Linked DNA regions of Homo sapiens: region 1 is linked to region 2. Evidence: promoter capture Hi-C in 16 types of primary human blood cells and fetal thymus (Javierre and others, 2016). All regions are on one chromosome and are shown on one strand. Each heading gives the region's core, a stretch centred on a gene start or on the middle of the fragment in contact. The rest is flanking DNA. Distances are from core to core; before and after follow the strand shown. Region 1 overlaps GPRIN1 (G protein regulated inducer of neurite outgrowth 1). Region 2 holds the start of FAF2 (Fas associated factor family member 2).

Evidence for each region. The method cuts DNA at HindIII sites, captures the fragments that hold promoters and counts their contacts. A CHiCAGO score of 5 or more calls a contact.
Region 1: a fragment that was not itself captured here is called in contact with the fragment with the promoter of FAF2 in region 2 in 1 of 17 cell types (naive CD4 T cells); the score reaches 5.9 in naive CD4 T cells.

The regions. Positions count from the first base shown.
Region 1 is chr5:176,598,450-176,604,661 of GRCh38, reverse strand. It overlaps GPRIN1 (G protein regulated inducer of neurite outgrowth 1), which reads left to right. Exons shown (of 2, transcript NM_052899.3): 2 at 4,785-6,212. The coding sequence starts at 4,828. Among named protein-coding and RNA genes, the nearest start is that of GPRIN1, 8.6 kb to the left of the region's middle. The HindIII fragment of the contact is 6,641 bases long and covers 1,642-6,212 here.
Region 2 is chr5:176,446,942-176,452,916 of GRCh38, reverse strand. FAF2 (Fas associated factor family member 2) reads right to left here and starts at 4,532. Exons shown (of 11, transcript NM_014613.3): 1 at 4,447-4,532. The coding sequence starts at 4,509. It overlaps LOC124901142 (a long non-coding RNA gene), which reads right to left and starts at 602. Exons shown (of 2, transcript XR_007059070.1): 1 at 1-602. RefSeq lists enhancers at 4,452-4,511, 4,822-4,881, 4,962-5,151 and a silencer at 4,592-4,641. The HindIII fragment of the contact is 11,476 bases long and covers 4,104-5,975 here.

The DNA.
Region 1 (6,212 bases), core at 3,713-6,212, 150 kb before region 2:
ACTTCCCTGCTTAAATACTTCCAAGGGGCGGGATACAGTGGCTCACTAGGCGCTAGGTATAATCCTATTGTAGACACGAGATCCTGCTATGTTGCCCATGCTGGTCTGGAACTCTTGGCCTCAAGAGATCAAGGTATAATCCTATTACATTGAGAGGCTGGGGTGGGAGGATCACTTGAGCCCAGGAGGTCAAGGCTGCAGTGAGCCGAGATCGCGCCACTGCACTCCAGCCTGGGCAACAGAGTGAGACATTGTCTCAAATAAAAAGAAAATACTTCCAGGGTTTCCAGTGCCCTTAGGCTAAACCCCCCTCCTCCACCATGCCTCATGTGATTTGCTGCCTCCTCTTCCGCTGCCACCCCCTTTCCGACTCCACTCCAGCTCTTCATGGCTGGCTCAGATGGTAACTGCCTCAGAGGGGCCTTTCTTGACCACATGTCTAAACCAGCTGCCCACTCCTTTGTCTTCACAGCATCCATTATTTGAAATACTATGATTTATTTGCCACTTGTTTATTTCTCTCCTCCCAATCTTTCTGCATCTATAAGGCAGGGACCCCACATTTCTTATTCACTGCTGTATCCCCAGTCCCAAGAATAATGCCTAGAACATTGCCTGTGTGCTCAGTAAATGCTGAGTTAATGGAATGATTCCTAATTGGCCACAGCTGGCAGGAATTGAGTGCCGTTGCCCCTTTAGAAGGGGCCAGTGCCCTCTAGTTTGCCACAGTCCCCACCACTCCCTCTTGTCTCCCTCAGTCTGGGGATGTCAGGAGTCTTTCATCATCTCCCTTGTAGGAGAAAACAAATATTTGTGCCCATATCACTATCAAAAGGCCAAAGATGAAGATGGACTCAATTCACGCCACTCAAATCTGATGCCTGCCTGACCCCTGCAGGCTGGTGACCATCCAGTGATCCCACGAATTCCAACCAGACCTCTCCCGTGCTTCTGGCCTGCTTCCTACTGCCTCCTGGATGTCACCCCCCATAAGTCCCATGGGCACTCCAGTTCCACTTCCGAAACCCAGTGCCCCATGATCCTCTGCAAAACTGTTCCTCTTCCTGTGTTCCCTCTTAGTGATGGTCCCCCTCCCCCACCTCATAAGCCAGAGCCTGAGGGACCCAGTAGTGAACAGTATCGACTGTGTCCCCATCCAGAGACCTGAGGTCTGGCCAGGGACCCAGAGGTGTAAATGGCCAGATGCAGAGTGACATGAGCCTTGTTAGAGGAGGAACGAGAGGCTACAGGAATCCCCAGGAAGCTGGTAGCCAAACAAGGCCCACTAGAGGAGGAGGTGTTTTAACGGAGATCTGAAGGTGTAATAAGAGACAGCCAGGCAAGAAGGGAGGGAGAGATTCCTCCAGAAGAGGGTGTGTAGAGGCTGAGATGGTGGGGGAGAGAGAGAGTGTGTATCTGTGTGTGTACATGTTTTGGGGGTGGGAGTGGGTAATGAAAGATAAATCCCAGCACTTAAGTAGAAACATAGGGGCTTAGGAGCATATTAAAGAGCTGGACTTTACCCCAAAGGTAAGAGTGAGTCATTAAAGGTTTCTCTTTATTGTCCATTGGAAAAAAAAAGGACTATGTGCGCACATAACCACAATTTAAACATCACAAAGGGGCGCACAAAGAAAAGCTTCTCCCACCCTCAGATCCCCGCTCTTCCTTCTGAGAGGCAGTCACTGCTAAAAGTTTTATAGGATTCCATCCAGAAATTCTCTTTATAAATAAACCCATCCATGTGTGTCCTTTTCCTTGGCTACACGCGTGGGATCCCAGTAGCGATGCTGTCCCCTGGCCTTTTTCAATTAATTTATCTTGGGTGCTTTCCCTCATTACCCCACACCTTCTAGTAGCTGCCCGGTGCTCTGCGTGGTTGTCCCACAGTTCACAGAACCTGCCTCCCCGTCTTGTTCTCATCACTAGCCATGCCCTTGTGTACCCCAGGACCATCTTCAGGACCCCAGGTCTATCTTTAGGACCATGCTTAGAGGTGGGCTTGGTGGCTCAAATGCTATGCGCGTTGTAAACTTTGATAGAAATTGATAAATGTCCTTCTAAAAAGATTACAACTAATTTACATTTCCGGCAAGAATGAGGAGGGTTTTGAGCCAAGGAGGGCACAGGTGGCTCTGCATCTTAGGTCATTCAGTCATTCATGGAACAAATCCGTATGAGGATCTTCCTTGCTTACTGCATGTGTGCCAGGTCTCAACTCTGGGATATATCAGATAGCACAGCAAAGTCCCCACCTCCTGGAGCTGGCATTTTAATGAGAGCAACACACCACAAGCAATAAGCGAATATATGTGATATGTCAGATGGTGACAGGTACTATGGAGGAAAACTGATTAGAATAAGAGGGTGGAGAATGCCAGCCAGAGCTGGGGAGGAGGCTGTTTTACATTGCATGGGTCAGGGAAAGCCTTGGGGAGCCGACCATGCAGATATTTGGAGAGAAATCTCTCCATGCAGAAGAAGCAGGCAGCGCCAAGGCATGGAGGCAGGCGTGTTCAAGGCACAGCAAGGCGCACAGCGAGGCACCCCGCGTGGCTGAAGCAGCGTGAGGGAGAGGGAGAGCAGCAGCAGAAAGGGCAGAGGAGGTGACGGGGCCTGAAGATGCAGGGGCTTCTGAGCCATTCTAAGGAGTTTACTTTTACTTTGCATGGGATGGGGAGACACTGCCTGGTTCCGAGCAGAGGGGTACATGATTTGTCTCGGGTTTTACTAAGATCCCTCTGGCTGCTGTGTTGAGAATAAGCTATGGGACAAAGGAAAAGGCAGGGATAATCCAGGTGAGAGATGGTGGGGGGTCCAGATGGCAGTAGCCAGATGCTGGATATATTCTGATGGTAACTCCATTATGTTTTGCTGATAGACGTGGGGTGTGAAAGTCAAGGGTGATTAGGGATTTGGGCCTGAGCATTAAAGCCATGGTTTTGGAGCAGGTTTGAGGGGATCAGGAGCTCTATTTGCTTTGGCTACTGAGTGTGTAACGGAACGGGGTTGCTTGTAGGCCCAGCTGCCTGCTGGACCCTCTTCTTGGATATCCCCCAGGCACTACAAACTCAGCTTGTCCAAAAACGGATCTCCCTCTTTCCTACATCTCCTGCTCAGCACCATCACCCAGCAGCCCTCACCCTAGCCAGTACCCTGCAGACCGCCCCTGCCATTACCAGTACAGCCTGTTGGTACCTGTCAGTTTTCCTTTGGATTTCTCAATTCTGCCTTTAACTACCATCTCCAGGACCTCTGCTGTGCTGTCTCTCATCGAGATTCCTGCAACTGCTCAGGGCCTGTTGCAGAGAAGGGGCTAGGTGAATGAATGAAGGATTAAATGGATGAAAGATTAAATGAATGATTTACCAGCTTCCTCACAGGTCTTGGCCAACCCCTGTGCTCCTTCAGCCCAGCCTCCATACCATCCCAGAGGAATCTTTGAAAACACACACATCTGACTATGTCCCTTCCTTGACTATAAACCATTCACAGCTCTCCAGGGCCTACATAGACATAAACTGGTGGCCTACAGGCAAGTCTTGTTTGGCCCACATAATGTTTGGGTTTTTTTTTTTTAAACCTTTAATTAATTAGCATATTTTACATTAAAGTCTGGATTTCCCACTTAAGCAACTGGAAGAACTGGGACCACCAGGTTGCATTTCTCCAGGATAGCACTTGGCTGATGGGAGTAGTGGTTCTCCCTTTATTATTTTTATTAATTTTTGTTTTTGTTTATTTTTGAGATGGAGTCTTGCTCTGTTGCCCAGGCTGGAGTGCAGTGGCACGATCTTGGCTCACTGCAACCTCTGCCTCTCAGGTTCAAGCAATTCTCCTGCCTCGGCCTCCTGAGTAGCTGGGATTACAGGCGTGCACCACCACACCTGGCTAATTTTTTTGTATATTTAGTAGAGAGGGGGTTACACCATGTTGGCCAGGGGGGTCTTGAACTCCTGACCTCTAGTGATCCGTCAGCCTCAGCCTCCCAAAGTGCTGGGATTACAGGCGTGAGCCGCCGCACCCGGCCATCCCTTTAGACAGAGCATGTGCTCTCTAATTTGCCATAGTCCCCACCACTCCCTTTTGTCTTATACCTAACCCACTTCCCTCACTTAAATTACCTACTTGACCCCCGGACATCAGAGCTTGCAGCCCCTGGCCTAGAGGACAAAAGCATAACTTCTGGATAGTGTGTTGCATGGGGTGGGGTTGAACAGAGAGGGGCGATAGTAGGCAAAGTTGAAAAGTTAGGCTGTGGGTGGGGCGCAGTGGCTCACGCCTGTAATCTCAGCCTTTGGGAGGCTGAGGTGGGCGGATCACCTGAGGTCGGGAGTTCGAAACCAGCCTGACCAACAAAATACAAAATTAGCTGGGCGTGGTGGCGCATGCCTGTAGTCCCAGCTACTTGGGATGCTGAGGCAGGAGAATCGCTTGAACCCAGGAGGCGGAGGTTGCGGTTGCGGTGAGCTGAGATCGCGCCATTGCACTCCAGCCTGGGCAACAAGAGCGAAACTCTGTCTCAAAAAAGAAAAAGAAAAAGAAAGTTAGGCTGTGGCCAAGTTGTGAAGGGCGTTGAATGCCTTGTAAGACGTCTTTATACAGAGGGCCACTGGGAGCAGTGAAGCAGGGGAGTGACATGCTTGGGTTTGTGTTTTTAGTCTAGGTCCTCTGGACAGGTGGGGACCAGATGGGACACAGCACTCAGTGAGGAAGGGGAGAAGGCAGAGTCTCCTCCCCCACTGAGCTTTGGGAAGTCTGAGTCAGCTCTCTCTCTGTTTCAGAACCAGACAGCAGCCTTGGGTGCAGGCGTGGTCATGAGGGCAGATGGACACTGCTGAAGACCCGGCCTGGCTCCAGCTGCTTCAAAAGGATTCCAGCCCCCCAGGACCCCGACCCACAGCCTTCTTCTGCCCACAGGATGGGAGCCTGGGGGCTGGCAGCTCGGCTATGAGGGATTACTGCCCCTCCCAGCAAAAGGCAAGCCCTGCACCCCCCAGGCACACCCCTGACCAAAGCCCAGGCATGGAGTCTAGACACAGAAGCCCCAGTGGGGCTGGGGAAGGGGCCTCCTGCTCTGACGGCCCCAGAGGGAGCCTGGCCTGCCCCTCCCCAACCTGCTTCTCTCCCCAGGAGTCACCCTCCAAGGAGACATTGGAGGCACATGGAGCCTCCATCTCAGGGACACCAGAAGCCACCACGTCTGGGAAGCCAGAGCCTGTGTCCTCCGTGAAAACTGAGCCCAAATCCTCAGATGACAGAAATCCCATGTTCTTAGAGAAGATGGATTTCAAGTCCTCAAAGCAGGCCGATTCCACTTCCATAGGAAAGGAGGATCCTGGGTCCTCACGGAAGGCAGATCCCATGTTTACAGGAAAGGCAGAGCCTGAAATCTTGGGAAAGGGGGATCCTGTGGCTCCTGGAAGGATGGATCCCATGACTGTAAGAAAGGAAGATCTTGGATCCCTGGGAAAAGTAGATCCTTTGTGCTCCAGCAAGACGTATACAGTGTCACCGAGGAAGGAGGATCCTGGGTCTTTGAGAAAGGTGGATCCTGTGTCCTCAGACAAAGTGGACCCTGTATTCCCAAGAAAGGAGGAGCCCAGGTATTCAGGAAAAGAGCATCCTGTGTCCTCAGAAAAGGTCGCTCCTACATCTGCAGAAAAGGTAGATCTTGTATTGTCGGGAAAGAGAGATCCTGGGCCCTCGGGAAAGGCAGATCCCATGCCCTTGGAAAGCATGGATTCTGCGTCCACAGGAAAGACAGAGCCGGGGCTCCTGGGCAAGCTGATTCCAGGCTCATCAGGCAAGAATGGGCCTGTATCCTCTGGGACCGGGGCTCCTGGGTCCTTGGGAAGGCTGGATCCCACATGCTTGGGGATGGCAGATCCCGCATCTGTGGGAAATGTAGAAACTGTGCCTGCCACAAAAGAGGACTCCCGGTTCCTGGGAAAGATGGACCCTGCCTCCTCAGGAGAGGGGCGTCCTGTGTCTGGCCACACGGATACTACGGCTTCAGCAAAGACAGATCTCACATCTTTGAAAAATGTGGATCCCATGTCTTCAGGCAAGGTGGATCCAGTTTCTCTGGGAAAGATGGACCCCATGTGCTCAGGAAAGCCAGAGCTCTTGTCTCCTGGACAGGCAGAGCGTGTGTCTGTGGGAAAGGCAGGAACTGTATCCCCAGGAAAAGAGGACCCGGTGTCCTCCAG
Region 2 (5,975 bases), core at 3,283-5,782:
GTCATCCTGTTCTGTACTGACCCCTGTGGAGATTCCAAACACATACTCCATACTGCTAATGAAGCAAACCTGAAACCTAGTGTCACTCCCTAGTTGAAAAATCCTTTGATGGCTCCCCTCATCTACAGATTAAAGTTTAAACATTGTGAACAGCTTTGAAAGGCCTCCAAAATCTGGCTTTAATTTACCTTTCTAGTCTTATTGTCCACTTTCAATACTCTTCAGTTCATCACCACAGACACTTCACTTTCCCATCTCCCTACCTTGTGCAAGCTATTTCTTTAGCTTTGAATATTCTGCCCAACACATGTTGAAACTCTATTCCTCTTCCAAAGTAGCAAGGTATATTAGTAAGAACTCAGCCATCAAGTCCAGATCTAGACCCACTAGAATTCCACTACCTAGTAGCTTAATCACCTTGAGTAAATACATCAATAGATCTGCTTCATTATGCATACCACCTATGGTACTTTGTAAACTGCTGTAAGGATTAAACATAATAGTTATACATTAACACCATGCCTAAGGCATAGTAGATACTTAATAAATGTTACCTGCTGGCCAGGTCCGGTGGCTCACGCCTGTAATCCGAGCACTTTGGGAGGCCGAGGCAGGTGGATCACCTGAGGTCAGGAGTTCGAGACCAGCCTGGCCAACACGGGGAAACCTTGTCTGTACTAAAAATACAAAAATTAGCCAGGCATGGTGGCAGGCACTTGTAATCCCAGCTACTCAGGAGGCTGAGGCAAGAGAATAGCTTAAACCTGGGAGGCAGAGGCTGCAGTGAGCCGAGATCGCACCACTGCACCCCAGCCAGGGCAACAGAGCAAGCCTCCGTCTCAAAAACAAACAGACAAAAATTAGCCAGGCACTTCTAGTCCTAGCCACTTAGGAGGCTGAGGTGGGAGGATCACTTGAGCCCAGGAGTTTGAGGTTGCAATGAACTATGATCACGCCACTGCACTTCAGCCTGGGCAACAGAGATATGTTGTCTCAAAAAAAAAAAAAAAAAAAAAAAAAAAAATATATATATATATATATGTGTGTATATATATATGTGTATATATATGTGTGTATATATATATATGTATATATATATATGTGTGTATATATATATGTATATATATATACACACACACACGTATATATATGTATATATACAATATACATATATACACATATATATATATCTATATATATCGCATACCCATTATTCATGTGTGTACTTGACTTCTCCATTAAGTTACACAGAAGATGGTTGTGGATATAAATTTCTAAATCTCTACCACTTACTACTTGTGAAAGCTATTTGACCTCTCAGAACCTGTTTCTTCATTATTAAAATGAACAAGATTAACCCTTTACACTGTTATATTAAAAGGTTTAAAAGAGTTAAGGGGCCAGGTGTGGTGGCTCACATCTGTAATCTCAACACTGAGGCAACTCATCTCAACACTGTAATCTCAACCTCTGAGGCAGCAGTTTGAGAGCAGCCTGGACAACATAGCAAGACTCCCGTCTCTACTTAAAAAAAAATTTTTTTTTTGAGACAGAGTCCCGCTCTGTTGCCCAGGCTGGAGTGCAGTGGCACGATCTTGGCTCACTGCAACCTCCACCTCCCGGGTTCAAGTGAGCCTCCTGCCTCAGCCCCCCTAGTAGCTGGGATTACAGGCACATGCCACCATGCCTGGCTAATTTTTGTATTTTTAGTAGAGACGAGGTTTTGCCATGTTGGCCAGGCTGGTCTCGAACTCCTGATCTCAGGTGATCCACCTGCCTCGGCCTCCCAAAGTGCTGGGATTACAAGCATGAGCCACCACACATGGTCTAAAATATTTTTCTTAAAAAAAGAGTTAATGTACATCAACTGCTGCTTGGTATAATGCTTGGCATCTAATAAGTTTCAACAACTGTTTGTTTAATGGCAGTCTGGATAATGAATCTGATCCAGCGATTGCTTATAGAATAGAAAAATGAAAGATGCATTTCCCTCAATAAATCCAATTTCATAAGGCAATCTTAATACAGCTCGAACCTGCTACCCACCTCTCTTCTAATAAAGATCTCCACAGTTTTGGCCGGGCGCGGCGGCTCACGCCTGTAATCCCAGCCGAGGAGGGCGGATCACGAGGTCAAGAAATCGAGACCATCCTGGCCAACATCGTGAAACCCCGTCTCTACTAAAAATACAAAAAATTCGCTGGATGTGGTGGCGCGTGCCTGTAGTCCCAGCTACTCGAGAGGCTGAGGCAGGAGAATCGCTTGAAACTGGAAGGCGGAGGTTGCAGTGAGCCGAGATCGCGCCACTGCACTCCAGCCTGGGCAACAAGAGCGAAACTCCGTCTCAAAAAAAAAAAAAAGATCTCCACAGAAGATAAAATGGAGGTTCCTATGCACTTTACTTCAGAAATGCTATCATAGATTTATATTCATGCTCTTCCAGTATGAGACTAAATATACCATAATTTATAACTCACATTACTTCATTGCACTTAAACCACATGTTAGCTTACCCCTGAAGAGTTCTAAGGGGTAAAATGGTCTGCCAAAGTTAAACAACACTCTGAAATTGGTGGTCTACCTGGAAGTGTAAGCTGGTTGTCTGTTTAACTCATTCTCTAATAATAATTTGCTGGGTCATCAATTCAATTTCTCTACCAAAAATTCCAATCAAATGTCAATTACATCTATGACAGCATTTTTCCATTTATACACTTCCAACACACTGCTCAATTTAAGAGGGGAAAAAATAACCACTTCAAAATTTATTATAGTGAAGTCTATTCAAGGAAATTGCAAAAAAGTGAGAACTCGCCAAAAAAATATTTATTTTCTCAGCATTTGCATTCCACACTCAACTGTACACTGAAATATAAGTTGCACAAGACAGAAGTCAGAAGCCTGGGAAGGGTTCTGGAAGATGGACATAGCTTTAAATCTGACACCATCATTTTCTAGCTGTGTAACCTAAGCATTTTATTTCTTAGTCCTGATACCCTTCATCTGTAAATCAGGGACTAGAACAGTATGAACCTCATAGGGTTGCTGTATTAAATGAGGTTATGTATGCTAAGTGTTTACAAAGTACTTACATCTGAAATAGTAAGTGGGATTCTACCTAGCAGCGCTGCGCACTAAGGTTCTTCATATAGTTGAATAAATGAATATTTACACATTTTATATAAGGAAATAAGTGTATCAATAACTTTAGGTCTATCCTAAGTCAAATTAATAGCAGAAAATACTATTTGGGGGCATTTTGCAGTCTACAAGGCCCTTCTAACATCCATATGTCCATTTGATCTCCCGAACATCCTCAGGAGGTAGATTTTTTTTTTTTTGAGACGGAGTTTCACTCTTGTTGCCCAGGCTGGAGTGCAGTGGCACGATCTCGGCTCACTGCAACCTCCGCCTCCCGGGTTCAAGCGAGTCTCCTGCCTTAGCCTCCCGAGTAGCTGGGACCACAGGCGTGCACCACCACGCCCGGCTAATATTTGTATTTTTAGTAGAGACGGGGTTTCACCATATTGGCCAGAGTGGTCTCGAACTCCTGACCTCGTGATTCGCTGGCCTTGGCCTCCCAAAGTGCTGGGATTACAGGCGTGAGCCACCGCTCCTGGCCTGGGGGTAGACATTTTTAAGACAGTCCTTTCAGAGATAAGGAAACTGGTAACAAAGTGCCAAGGTTACCCACCCTAGTGGTATCCTCCAACCATTCTCCAGCTCAGGGGTAAGTGATCAGTGGCAAATGTTCTTAATACAACATCTTGTATTAACATAACATTTCTGCAAGTTACCACCCTCCTCAAGCATAGTTAAGCACAGGAATCCAGGAATAAGCCAAAAGTAATAAATCCCGACAGACCACTGATGACACTTATCATCTTGCATTGTTTCCTCACTTGGTGTCCTCCCACACCTCTAGGGCGGGGACCAGATCTGTGTGTAGGTGCCCCCTCCCCGACCGGAACCCCCAACACGAAACCTGGTATCCAAGAGGCCCCAGTTTGTGGGAGTGTATGTGGAAATGGCATGGGATGCTGGCAGGAGGTTTTCCTGTCAGAGACCCGAAATGACGCCAACTCCGCGGTGGGGACTAAGCTTCTCCGGCAGATATAGACTCGTTGGGCGGAGAGGGTCCGACCGATAACCGGGCTGGGAAGGATGGCTGAGGACTGACGCCGCTAAGGCAAACCAGGGAAGCTGACACGCTGAGGGCACAGAGGCACAGACGAGGCGGGTCTGCCCGCAGCGATGGCTGGAAGGCTAGGGTCCAACAGAGGCTTGGGGGCCGGGGGAATCAGGGCAGTTGGAGTCTGGGGGGGAGGGGGCCGGCCTGCTGGTCTGAGAAGGATCTGAACCCAATCTGAGGAGGGTTCTGAACTCCTCTAGGGGCCTACTCCCCATCCCACGGAGGCATCTGCTGCACCGAGTACTCGCTGCTACCTGAAACTGCAGCAGCTTCTCTGTCTGCTCCTGGGTTAGATCCCGCTCCTCAGGCGCCGCCATTTTGCCGCCGCCTCTACGCTCCTGACCCGTCCGCACCGTCACCCGCCGGAACTGACCTCAGCCACAACCACATCCGGTCTGAACGGCCGCCGGCGCGCAACTGCGTCTGCGCGCGCTGGCCCACTAACCTCCCCCCGCCCCCCGCCACCTCTGGCCGCCGCCAGAGGGCGCCACGCTCGGGCCTATCCCGAACACTTCCGGAAATTGCCGAGGGACTGTCGGTACAAGTCGCTCTTACCATTTAGGCGACGAAAGGATCTGCTAAGATTAGGCGACGAAAGGAGACCTAAGATTCCAGTGCAGTCTTGCAGAGCCGAGAGGGCCCGAATGTGCCTCGAGAAGCTCCGGAGCATCCCGAATGGCATTCGGCTGATTTCGGCTGCTCTCTAACCATTTTCCGGCAACCTCAGATACTCTTGGAGGTTTCTCGGGAGACGCAGCCGTTCCGAAATACCAGCCTTTTGGTCGCTGGCCCCTGACCTAAAGTTTCCAAAAGCTCCTGACCATCTCTCGGGAGGTTCCGAAGGGCTCTGGATACTGGCGCGGCATTTCCGACGCCGCCTTCGAAGCGGAAGCTGTGGGCAGACTTCGGCCACCGTTCCATTGCCGCTTCGGGGTCACTTGCAGGAAGATCTGGACTCGGCTCCCCGGATCCTCGACCATTCATGGCGCCCCCAGTCGTCCGCACAGCTTGCCGTCCACCGCCGTGACTGCGGCGCTGGAACCCCGGCCCGGCATCTGCTTTTCCGTGCCTGGAGCCTTGTCTCTCCGCACTAGCGCTGCACTGGCCCCTTGTCTCTGTGACAGGCGAAGAAAGATCCCTGGACCGGGATTAGGAGACGCGGGTTCTAGTTGCCACCTTGCCAACTGCTGGACATCCTTGGGCAAACCACTTGGGCTCCATTTTGCCATTTGTTGAATGAGATTCCCCAAAAGCCCCTGACGTGCTGCCGCCGCCCCTTCTCCTCGAGGCAGTCCCCTGCCCTTCCCTTCTGCTGCTTACACTACCCTATCACCACCCCTCAATCTCTATCTTCCTCTGCACGTCCCTTGCCCCTTCTAGTCCGCCACCTCTCTTTAGATTTCCCGTTTTCATTTCCACCTCTCCCGCCGAACGCCTCCTCTGCCCACCTTCCAGAGAGGCCTGGGTCTGGTACACGCTTTTCCACTGACCACCTGTGTGATTCTCAGCAAGGCTCTCGGCCGCCTGCGCCCCACCCTCGTCCCCTTGCAGGGTTGATCCGGTGAGACAGAAAAGGCTTTGAGAGCTGGTTCTGTGAAGAGTACATGAAATTTTGGCTACTTCTTTCAGGACTTATCAGGTCTTACCAGGTCTGCACAAACCACGACGTCCTGGAAAAACAGCACATGGTACGCCCTAAAACACAACCCCCAAAAAGTGCTAATTGGAAAAACAAAACAAAACAAAACAAAAACCCTGCAAATTTGGATCTGCATATGAAATC